Linked DNA regions of Homo sapiens: all the other regions are linked to region 1. Evidence: promoter capture Hi-C in 16 types of primary human blood cells and fetal thymus (Javierre and others, 2016). All regions are on one chromosome and are shown on one strand. Each heading gives the region's core, a stretch centred on a gene start or on the middle of the fragment in contact. The rest is flanking DNA. Distances are from core to core; before and after follow the strand shown.

Region 1 (3,085 bases), core at 89-2,588:
ATTTTCATCCTGGCACAGCCTTCTCTAGGAACAACTACGGTGCCAGGTAAGGTGAAAGTGGAAAACAGATCCTTTCCCAAAAAACGGAACTTTCCCCTTTTCCACTAAACATAGCTTCTTCACCACTCTAACATGAAAGCTTTGATATAACAGGGAAACTTAAAAAGCTGCAGGAACTTTTGTTATTCTAAAAGTGAGTAGTACGTCAGGACAGCCATTTTACAACCTTCATTTCCAAACACCTATTACACCATACATCTTGCAATTTTAAAAGTATCTTTTCTTTAGGGTAAAAAAAGTACCACTTACACATTCATCATTTAAGTCATTACTGTTTCAAAGGACAGTTATTAAGCTTCTTAATACAGCTGTCAAAATCAATTTGTAGATAGCCTCCAATTTCAAATTTCTACATTTACATCTACTGATAGACCATCCTGATTAGCGATTAAGATAACAGACTTAAACTCTAAGCAATCCTTGCAAAATCCAGTTGATTTTTAAAATCAGTAAGCAACACGCGATCATTTTTAAAGAAAGTCATTCCGAAAATAGCTTGATTGTGGTGGCCAATCTGCTCCTCAGCAGCTGTTCCCTGTTGCTTGTACGCATGGGAGTGGAGGTAGAAGGGCAAAACCCACAAGCCCACGCAAAACTCGTACAGTCACAAACATTATGTAAACATGTCGTGAGGCCAAGAGGCCCCAAGGAGAAAGAACCGCCGGGAGGAAGAGAACGGCAAGCTGCATGTAAGGACGATGGGCGCTGTGTGCGGACGCAGGAGACCCGGGCAGAGGGGCCCAGGGCGGGACAAAGACTGGCCCATCTCGGGCAGCGCCGGCCAGCGCCCAGAACCAGTGAAAGGCAGCCGTCCCGGGGCAGCCGACTGCAGCACTCAAGGGCCCTCAAACGCCACAGCTTAACAGGCGAGGCAAACGCTCCCCTGAATGTAAGACCCTTCCCTTCCCGCCCCTTGTAACGGGCTCCTGCCGCCCCTAACGGGATCCTCGGACGCTTGAGGAGCCGCCGTCGCCTGCTCCCTACCCGGGTCCCGCAGGGCGCCTGGGCGGGCAGCTGTTGGGGTTAGAACCGCGCCGCCGCTGCCTCTCGGCTTCAAACGGCCGGGCAGGCGCCGAGAGAGCGGGCGAGCCCGGCGTCTCTCCCGTAGGCGCGTCAGGCAGCTCGGCGCTCCCAGCCTCCGTTCCCGCCCCTGCAGTTCGGGGCCGCGCACCCTCACGCCACCTACCCGGTCCCACACCATCCCAGACGCCTCGGGCGCTCGGGCCTTCGGCCGAAGCGGCACTGCCTCCTGTCCGGGGCCTGAAATGGCTGCGGAACAAAGAGAATCTGGGCTTCACCGAGCGCCGGTCCGATTGGCCGGGGGGCGGAGCCCGCGGCGGGAACATTCGGCGGCGGTCGCCTTGGCAACGGCGGCGGGGCTAGGAAAATTGCTGCCTGGGTCGGCTGGGCCTGTGGGCCTGCGTCCGACAGCGCGCGGCCGTGCTTTCTAAGCGGGCTCGGCAGCACCAGACTTCACCGGCCCGGCGCGGGGCTCACAAGTGCTCGCACTCCCTGCGGCCGGCGCGCTGACCGGAGCCTCTGGGTCTCGCACGCAGCAGCTGCAGACGCTGCCCGGCGCGGTGGGGCTGTGAGCAAAACGGCCCGCCGGTGTGGTTGCCCAGACTGTGCTGGGCCCTCCTAGGTGGATGGCCCTGCCCCAGCCTAACTTCTGTACCCCAGCATAACCTCCAAAGTAACAGCCGTGCCCTGGGAGCCTGTTCAACACTGAACATATCCCACAATAACACTGTTCCAGCGTCGCTGGTAAAAAGCAGAAATGGCTTCGGTAGGTAGACGCCGGTGGATGGCTGCCCGCTTAGAACAAGATAGGCTTTTGACGTATGTTGTATCTGGCGTATAAACTACTATGTAATTAGAATTCAGTGATTTATAAAATGTTTACGCCTCCAGGTGTTCAATCCTATAAAACTGTAGTTTCTTGCTCTTAGAAATAACAAGCCTTTCTCTCCCTAACCTGCCATCATGAGAAATTAAAATGTCCTGTATTTTCTGTACGGCAAATGATTCAAAATGGGAGTGGTGGACGTTTTTATACCCAACTGCAACAAGGGTAATGAGATAAATATCAGTTTCCTTCCCTCAGATTATTCTTATATGTAAAATTTACTGTATAAAAATACTTAAAATTTGCATAGCTAGCTGATTTTTATTTTCTAAGGTGATGATGCCCGTGATAATATTCCTCACATGATCAGTGTGAGTAGAAATACCAGCAGTTCCGACTATCTTACTGGAAGTGCTGTATATATTTTGAAAATGTGTGACAGTTGTTGCCTTCCTGTCATAGTTTAGGTAAAATTACAGTACATAATACTAGAAAATGTCTAAATTTTTACTAAGGTAATTTATTTGTTCTTCTAAACGTGTTAACAATTTTCATTTGAATTACAGTCATTTTGCAGGAACAACTAGTTTATTTAACTTAAAATTTGAGACTAAAAGTACCATTTTTTAATCATTGGGAAATTGAACTTAGCAAGGGAAAATATAGATAACTAAAATATTCATGATTTCAACATGTTATAATATTAATTTGATAGTAATTGGATACAGTAGTGTATATCAAAAAGAGCCCCCCCCCCCAAATAGGAGTAGATTACCAAGAAAAAAATGTAATATAAACTTTTCTGAATGGTAGTTTATCTGCAGGAAAATATACCCAGAAAAAGTATATTTATCCAAATAACAAATGGCTTATTTCTGCATTTGAAAAGTTACATCGTGGACTAGGATCTATACAAATCAGAAGATGTGTAGTATTTGCATTCTACTTTGCTAAAGGAAAAAACACAAATATTTCTAAAATCCAAAAGATTAGCAAATAATGACAGATGTAAATACTACTGACTAAGCAATTAGTAGGAGTTCACTTGATTAATAGTTTGGAAATAGCTGAAATGAATTGAAGAAAAAGTAACATATTATTTAGCATAAGAGGATTTATTGGCCAAAACATTTTGAAAGAAAAAAATGTTGATTATCAGATGTTGTAAAATTGAGATTA
Region 2 (3,510 bases), core at 214-2,713, 1.2 Mb after region 1:
CACCAGATATACACTTTCATAACTCAGTACCTATGTTCTTGTAACTCTCTTGGTTTATACAGTCTTACCTTCCATCCTGCACCCTGAACTTGGCCAGCTCTTACCCAAGATTCATCTCACCCATTACTTCCTATCGGTAGCTTTCTGTAACCACCTTCTCAAGCTTTAGACAACCCTTCTTACACTGTACCACAGTTACCTGCTTTCTTGTCCATCTTCCCTACAAAATTATTAGTTCCATTCCTACGCATCCATGCCAAATATCTAAAATAGTGCCTAGACCACAATAACCACTTAATAATTCTGAATTAAACATTCTGGACTGACAAACAATTGTGTGTTGTTTGCACTATTTAGATGTTATCTGTATAGGCTTAGAAATCGTGGGAACACAGTGAAATTTTCCAGCTCTGATATTTCGCAAGTTTTGAGTTTTTTGGCCTTATGATGCCTCCTAATTCCAAGAAAAGCCACTCAAAGATACTGTGGGATATTTTCTATTAACATAACCAACTTTTTTTTTTTTTTTTTTTTGAGACAGAGTTCGCTCTTGTTGCCAAGGCTGGAGTGCAATGGCACGATCTCAGCTCACTGCAACCTCCGCCTCCCAAGTTCAAGCGATTCCCCTGCCTCAGCCTCCCAGGTAGCTGGGATTACAGGCGCGCGCCACCATGCCCGGCTAATTTTTGTATTCTTAGTAGAGATGGGGTTTCACCACGTTGGCCAGGCTGTTCTCGAACTCCTGATCTCAGGTAATCCACCCGCCAGGGCCTCCCAAAGCGCTGGGATTACAGGCGTGAGCCACTGGGCTCGGCCATCATAATCAACTTTTAAACTCAAATTTCCTAAGCACAGCGCCCCTCGTTGGGCTGCTCTAGGCCAGTGGTTCCCAAAGCTGGCTGCCAAAAGTCCCCTAATGAGTTCACTAACAATATAAACACAGCGACTCCACCTGAGACCCACAAGGTCCAGAGTAGGGCTCAGGCAGCTATTCAGCTAGCTCCCCAGGTGGCAATTCTAAACCAGGCTTTAAGAACCACTGATTTCAAAGACACAAAGTACAGTGCCAGCTCTAAAAGTGAACTAAACTTTCTTGTATCTGTTAGGCTTTTCTTCTTCAAACTTCACGTGCGTCACAGAATCAACTGGGGCTCCGGACAAGAGAGCAGCAGTTGTTGAAGCGTGCCCCTCCTCCACTTGCTTCCTAGCCTGGCACCGGCGGCCAGGCCACCGGGGCGCTCAGCCTACCTGGTAGAGGGCAGAGCCCAAGTCCGGCTGGGTGCCCAGCGAGGCCACCGAGTCCCCGTGATAGGCGCGCGGCCCGGCGGGAGAGGCGCGGGCACACGGCCGCAGGGCTAACCTCAGGACGGCCCACATGGCGGCGGGCACCGAGCGAGAGAGCGGCCCACGCTGGCCTGGAGCCGGTGCTTTCCCCTGCCGCTTCCCTGGCTGGGGCGGAAGCTGAGCTCAGGTCCTTGCAGCCCCAGAGAAGGTTTCTCTGATTCTCAGGCCTGTCCACACACGTGCCTAAGCGCGCCGCCCGCGATTGGTCAAGCCGCGCCACGCCCCCTGACCCAGCCAATAAGGGACAGAGCCTCAGCCCCGCGAGGTCGCGTCTAGTCCCGAGCGCAGGAGAGCAGGTCTCCCCGGCGGATCGACCCTCACGAAGCGGTGCGGCAGTGAGAGAGCTGCGGTTGGGCTTGGATTGGTGTTGTGTTGACACAGCGATAGATAATATCACGATAGTGACTGTACCTAAGGCAGGAGAATAAGTCTGGAAGCAGGGAACCTAAGGCTGTCTCACGCTGACTTCCTAGAGCTAAACTGAAAGGAAAACCCTAACTTTCCATGCCTAAGTAACAAAAGGACCAAAGGCTACTCCCTTTGCAAACCCCCCCACCTTTTCCGCAGGGCAGATAGGAAATTGGCTGTCCCCGACAAATCAGACTTACTGCTGGTGGAGGCTTGCTTTGCCAAGTTTGAACCTTAACTCCAGCCTCTGAATGGTTGCTGTCCACAACCAATCAGACTGATTGGGGGTCCAGTCTTCGTTTGCATAGAAGTATAACTTTGTAATTTCACCCTAGCCTCTGACTGCTTGCTTCTTGCAACCAATCGGGTTTGAGGTGAGCATAAAATGGCCAATAGGAAACTTCTAGTGGGTATTTGGACCCAAGAAGATTCTATATCCGGGCCCTTGAGCTCTGCTCGGTCCGCTCCCACATTGTGGAGTGCACTTTCGTTTTCGGTAAATCCCTGCTTTCGTTCTTTCGTTGCCTTGTTCTTTCTTTGCTTTGCTGGGCGTTTTGTCCAATTCTTTGTTCACAATGCCAAGAACCTGGACAACTTGCAGTCACAACCCCCAGTGACACACCAACAACATGAGTGAATCGCATCTAACACGTGCTTGCGAACAGCACAACAAGCCTGTTGTCCTTTCACTGGAGACCTTAAACATTCTTCTGATTATTTTCGCTATGTAGTTATTTTTATTTTTTACTTTATTTCATTTTTTGAGACAGGGCCTCACTCTGTCGCCCAGGCTGCAATGCAGTGGCACGATCACAGCTCGCTGAATCCTTGACCTCCCACCTCAGCCTTTCCAGTAGCTGAGACTACAGGTTTGTGCCACCAAGCCCGGCTAATTTTTTATTTTTGTAGGGGTTTCACCATGTTGGCTATGCTGGTCTTGAACTCCTGGACTCAAGCGATCTGCCCGCCACAGCCTCCCAAAGTGCTGGGATTACAGACATGAGCCACCACACCAGGCACTATGTAGTGACAGATTGTGGACATCAGCACTGTGGTCTTAAATAAAGGACTCCAAATATACCCATAAAAATTAAAACATTCTATACAAAATGCCTTGAACTTAAGGTTTTTCATTCACATATTTATTGAGCACTTACTACTTCTACTCCATTGGTTGCTTAGTGGGGCAGAGTAAAGGGGGAGGATGGGGTAGAGAAAGGGTGCGTCTACACCTGGAGGTAAACTTAGGTTCAGACTTCAAGGTACTTATAAGAAAATAATACAAATGGCCACATGATTTCTTACTGAACTGTGTAGGACAGACATTAAAGGAACAGAATGCAATTGGGAAAGGGTTGCAGCTGAGCCTTGCAGAAGCGTTGAGAGTGGACTGAGCAATGAACATGGCCAGGCTTTGTGCAAATGGAGGAGAGCATGAGCTAAACTGCAAAGGTATGATTTACACTGTGCTTGCCTCCCATGGTCAACAGAAAAAAAGGCCAGTAAAAACTGACTTTTCATATGTATCAGGGTATCAGAAGAGAGGGTTTGATATTTTAATTGCCACACTTTATTTTTCTCTAAATAGTTCTTCAATGATGCAAAGTACTTAAAATCACCACCCGAAGACAGAAAAGACACAATAGGATATGATTCCTTGCTTTCTTTAAAAGTCATACCTGTTTTGGCCGGGTGCAGTGGCTCATGCCTATCATCCTAGCACTTTGGAAGGCCAAGGCAGGTGGATTATCTGAGGTC
Region 3 (3,342 bases), core at 456-2,955, 2.0 Mb before region 1:
ACTTAAATGATTCTTGCACCATTAAGTTTATTCACATGATGTAAGTTAAATTTTGGTCTTGAATGATATGAGGCATCAGGGCTTACATCTCTAATAATCTCATTAGGGAATGGTCCAAAATCTACTGGACCACAAAAGGGATGAACTGATTACAGTATCTTTTTTCCTTGACATAATTTGCTTTTTTAATAACACCTTCATTTCACATTTAAAAAATTTAAGTCAGTTTTATTGAAGCATAATTTACACACAGTAAAACCTGTCCTTTTTAGGTATACAGTTCTAAGTTTTTCCTAACTACACAGTTCTGTAACCACCACAATCAAAATACAAAGAATTTCCATTTCCCCCTAAAATTCCCTATGTAACTTTTAAGTCAATCCTCTTTCCCAACCCTCAGTTTGATACCTATCCCTACAGTTTTGCCTTTCCCAGAATGAAACAGGGATCAACAGTAGTACATAGCCTTTTGAATCTGGTTTCTTGCTTTTGGGATTCACCCAATTTGCTGCAGGTATAGGAACTTCAATCCTTTTTATTGTTGAGTAGTATGCTATTGTATGGATACACCACTGTTTACCCGCTGACCAGATGATAGGTATCAGGGTTGTTCCCAGTTTTGGGTGATTACGAATAAATCTGCAATAAACAACTGCATGCAAGTCTTCATGTGGACGTGTGTTTACTGCCAGACCGTTTTCCAAAAGTGCATTATTTTTCTTTTCACCAGCAATGTATGGGATGCTTTTTGCATTTTAGACACGTTTTAAACACGCGGCCAGGCGTGAGTCTATTCGTATTTTAAGGCTGCAAAAATAAAAATGATACAAAGCCAAGTCCAGCACAGAGAGCAATGTTAAGTAACAACCAACAAGGTGTGCTGCTACCAACTGCTATCACATAAACTTTGCAGCAATCACATGAAGGGTGTATGGAATGCCATTTTGCAAAGAAACGCAGATTATAGAGACGTAACACAAAGAGAAAGGACCTGGCAGTTAGATCTGGGCCGTTAAGCCCGGCTTCGCAATTCATTAGCTGTCTGGTCTTTGGCAAGGACGCCTTCAGTTTCCTCAGCAGTAAAATGAAGGGGGCGGGACTGACATCTAAGACTGTACAAGGGACAACCATATTCCCATTAGGCTCTGGGGCTGATAACCACGCTTGTGGTGAAATCAGGAATTTTTAGGACTCTTAGCGGTGGATCAAAAAGAAAAAAGAAAACAGGACAGAGTAAAATCTTGCTCCAAAGCTTGTGTTCTGGCAAATACCGTCTGTGTCTCGAATGTGAAGTTGTTTCCACTCCTCAGAGCCCACCCCACGGGTCTACCATCCTTTTCTCTTGGCAGTTCTCATTTCCGCCTACCACCGCTCACCCCCTACCCCAGCGCCCCAGAGTCCTCAGGTCCCACTAACTCAGACGCTGTGTGTCGCGAGCGTCCGAGGCATCCTCCTTACCATGGTGACGGCCGCAGAGCCGCCAGGAGCAGCCGCTGGAGTGCGAAAACGCTCTCAATTTTCGGGTCTCAAAGACCCACAAGCCCACACCACGCAGGCCGGGACAGGAAAGAGTCACCCTTTAAAACGGCCGAGTGAAGAGCAAGAACCACGCAGCGGTTCCGAGCCTCTGTTTTCCGCTTTTAGCTAGGAGGACGGAAGTTGCTGGCAGGCGGCATTTGGCCGGTACACCGCCGGAAGTGTGGAGGTGTGGCTGCCCGAGGCGGTAGAGCGGAGAAAGCCTATTTTCTTTTCGTTTAGATACATTGCCTTTTGCCTAGGCTGGCGTCGAGACTTGAGGCCGTTGCAGACTTTGGCGCGGCTCGCGCCTCCTGCTTCAAGAGCCCAGCGGTGAGAGCTGGCCTGCGGCACGCGGCCTAATGCCAGGTGAGTACTGCTCCGAGCTGTGAGACATCGCGCGCCTGTGACCCTGTCACAGCGCTGGGTACCGCTGACCTTTCAGGCTGCGACGGACACAGCCAGCCACGGAAGAGGACAACAGGGCCTCCGGACTCCCCTCGGTGTTCGCTCAGTATGGAAGTTTTTCTCTATCATTCGGCGAAGTCGACTCATCTTTGTTCCGGTCACTCTGTGTAATGTGTGCATGATTGTGAAGGATACTGAGGAATGAAAACTTAGTGTACAGAAAAATGGAACTACTGGGGCTTTGCAGCTGTTAGAAAAGAAGAAGATAACATTCTGGTTTTTTGGAGGTACAGGACTGATTCCAGAAATTTCTGAGGCATTTTGGTGCACCGAATCAAATGCTGAGTGGACTTGTATTTAGTGGCCCCCTAGTGTCAAGAAGTAATTAACTACCAGAAAGTACGTCTACTTAAATACACTATCAGGTTTACCCTTTTACTGCACAGTTGCAGAAGTTCCCTTAATTACTTCACAGCTTGCAGCGTGATTCAGTTGATGAACAAAAAGAACTGTACCAAAAGAATACTTTCATTAATTCTTAGTGCTTGTATTTGAGGCAGTATTTTGTTTTTGTTTTTGTTTTTATGGGTATTTTGAGACGGCATCTCGCCCAGTCGCCCAGGCTGGAGTGCAGGGGCACGAGCTCGGCTCACCGCAGCCTCGACCTCCCGGGATCAAGCGATCCTCCGACCTCAGCCTCAAAAGTAGCGAGCTACAGGCTCGCGCCACGAAGCCTGGCTGATTTTTGTAGTTTTTGTAGAGATGAGGTTTCACCGTGTTGCCCAGGCTGGTCTCGAACTCCCGGGTACGAGCGATCCACCCGCCTCGGCCTCCCAAAGTGTTGGGATTACAGGCTTGAGCCACAGCGCCCGGCTTTGAGGCAGTTTTTGTTTTGTTTTGAGACGGAGTTTCAATCTTGTCGCACAGGCTGGAGTGCAAATGCGCCATCTCGTCTCACTGCAACCTCTGCCTCCCGGGTTCAAGCGATTCTCCAGGTTCAGCCTCCCAAGTAGCTGGAATTATAGGCGCTCGCCACCACACCCAGCTAATATTTTTGTATTTTTAGTAGAGATGGGGTTTCACCATGTTGGTCGGGCTGGTTTCGAACTCCTGACTTCAGGTGATCCACCTGCCTCGGCCTCCCAAAGTGCTGGAATTACAGGCGTGAGCCACCGAGCCCCGCCTTTGAAGCAGTTTTTTAAGGCTCCATTTTCTAAGGTGATCTCATCATTCTCTTTAAAACCAGAAATAGTAACTAGCATTTGTATATTTTAGGTACAGTACGTTATATAATCTCTTTGCCTTTAATGCGCCCCTCCCCGCCGTCCCTCAATCCCCCGAATTTCCTCCCTCATCTACTTCAGGTCTTTGCTTAAATGTCACTGTTTGAATGAGGCCTTCCTTGATCTCTTTACTTAC

Evidence for each region. Contacts are between HindIII fragments. The CHiCAGO score rates a contact against its expected background, and 5 or more counts as called.
Region 2: a contact is called between the fragment with the promoter of MCCC2 here and the fragment with the promoter of TNPO1 in region 1, in 5 of 17 cell types (total B cells, naive CD8 T cells, total CD4 T cells and 2 more). The highest score is 7.9, in total B cells.
Region 3: a contact is called between the fragment with the promoter of GFM2 here and the fragment with the promoter of TNPO1 in region 1, in 1 of 17 cell types (total B cells). The highest score is 5.6, in total B cells.

The regions. Positions count from the first base shown.
Region 1 is chr5:72,814,914-72,817,998 of GRCh38, reverse strand. It overlaps TNPO1 (transportin 1), which reads right to left and starts at 1,338. Exons shown (of 25, transcript NM_002270.4): 1 at 1,247-1,338. The coding sequence starts at 1,261. It overlaps TNPO1-DT (TNPO1 divergent transcript), which reads left to right and starts at 1,451. Exons shown (of 9, transcript NR_186518.1): 1 at 1,451-1,846. RefSeq lists enhancers at 562-611, 1,692-1,771 and silencers at 1,072-1,291, 1,332-1,431. The HindIII fragment of the contact is 3,194 bases long and covers 358-3,085 here.
Region 2 is chr5:71,585,293-71,588,802 of GRCh38, reverse strand. It overlaps MCCC2 (methylcrotonyl-CoA carboxylase subunit 2), which reads right to left and starts at 1,463. Exons shown (of 17, transcript NM_022132.5): 1 at 1,249-1,463. The coding sequence starts at 1,377. RefSeq lists an enhancer at 1,018-1,804. The HindIII fragment of the contact is 6,273 bases long and covers 166-3,510 here.
Region 3 is chr5:74,765,480-74,768,821 of GRCh38, reverse strand. It overlaps GFM2 (GTP dependent ribosome recycling factor mitochondrial 2), which reads left to right and starts at 1,705. Exons shown (of 21, transcript NM_032380.5): 1 at 1,705-1,884. NSA2 (NSA2 ribosome biogenesis factor) reads right to left here and starts at 1,573. Exons shown (of 6, transcript NM_014886.6): 1 at 1,459-1,573. The coding sequence starts at 1,461. RefSeq lists an enhancer at 1,553-1,992. The HindIII fragment of the contact is 3,173 bases long and covers 1,255-3,342 here.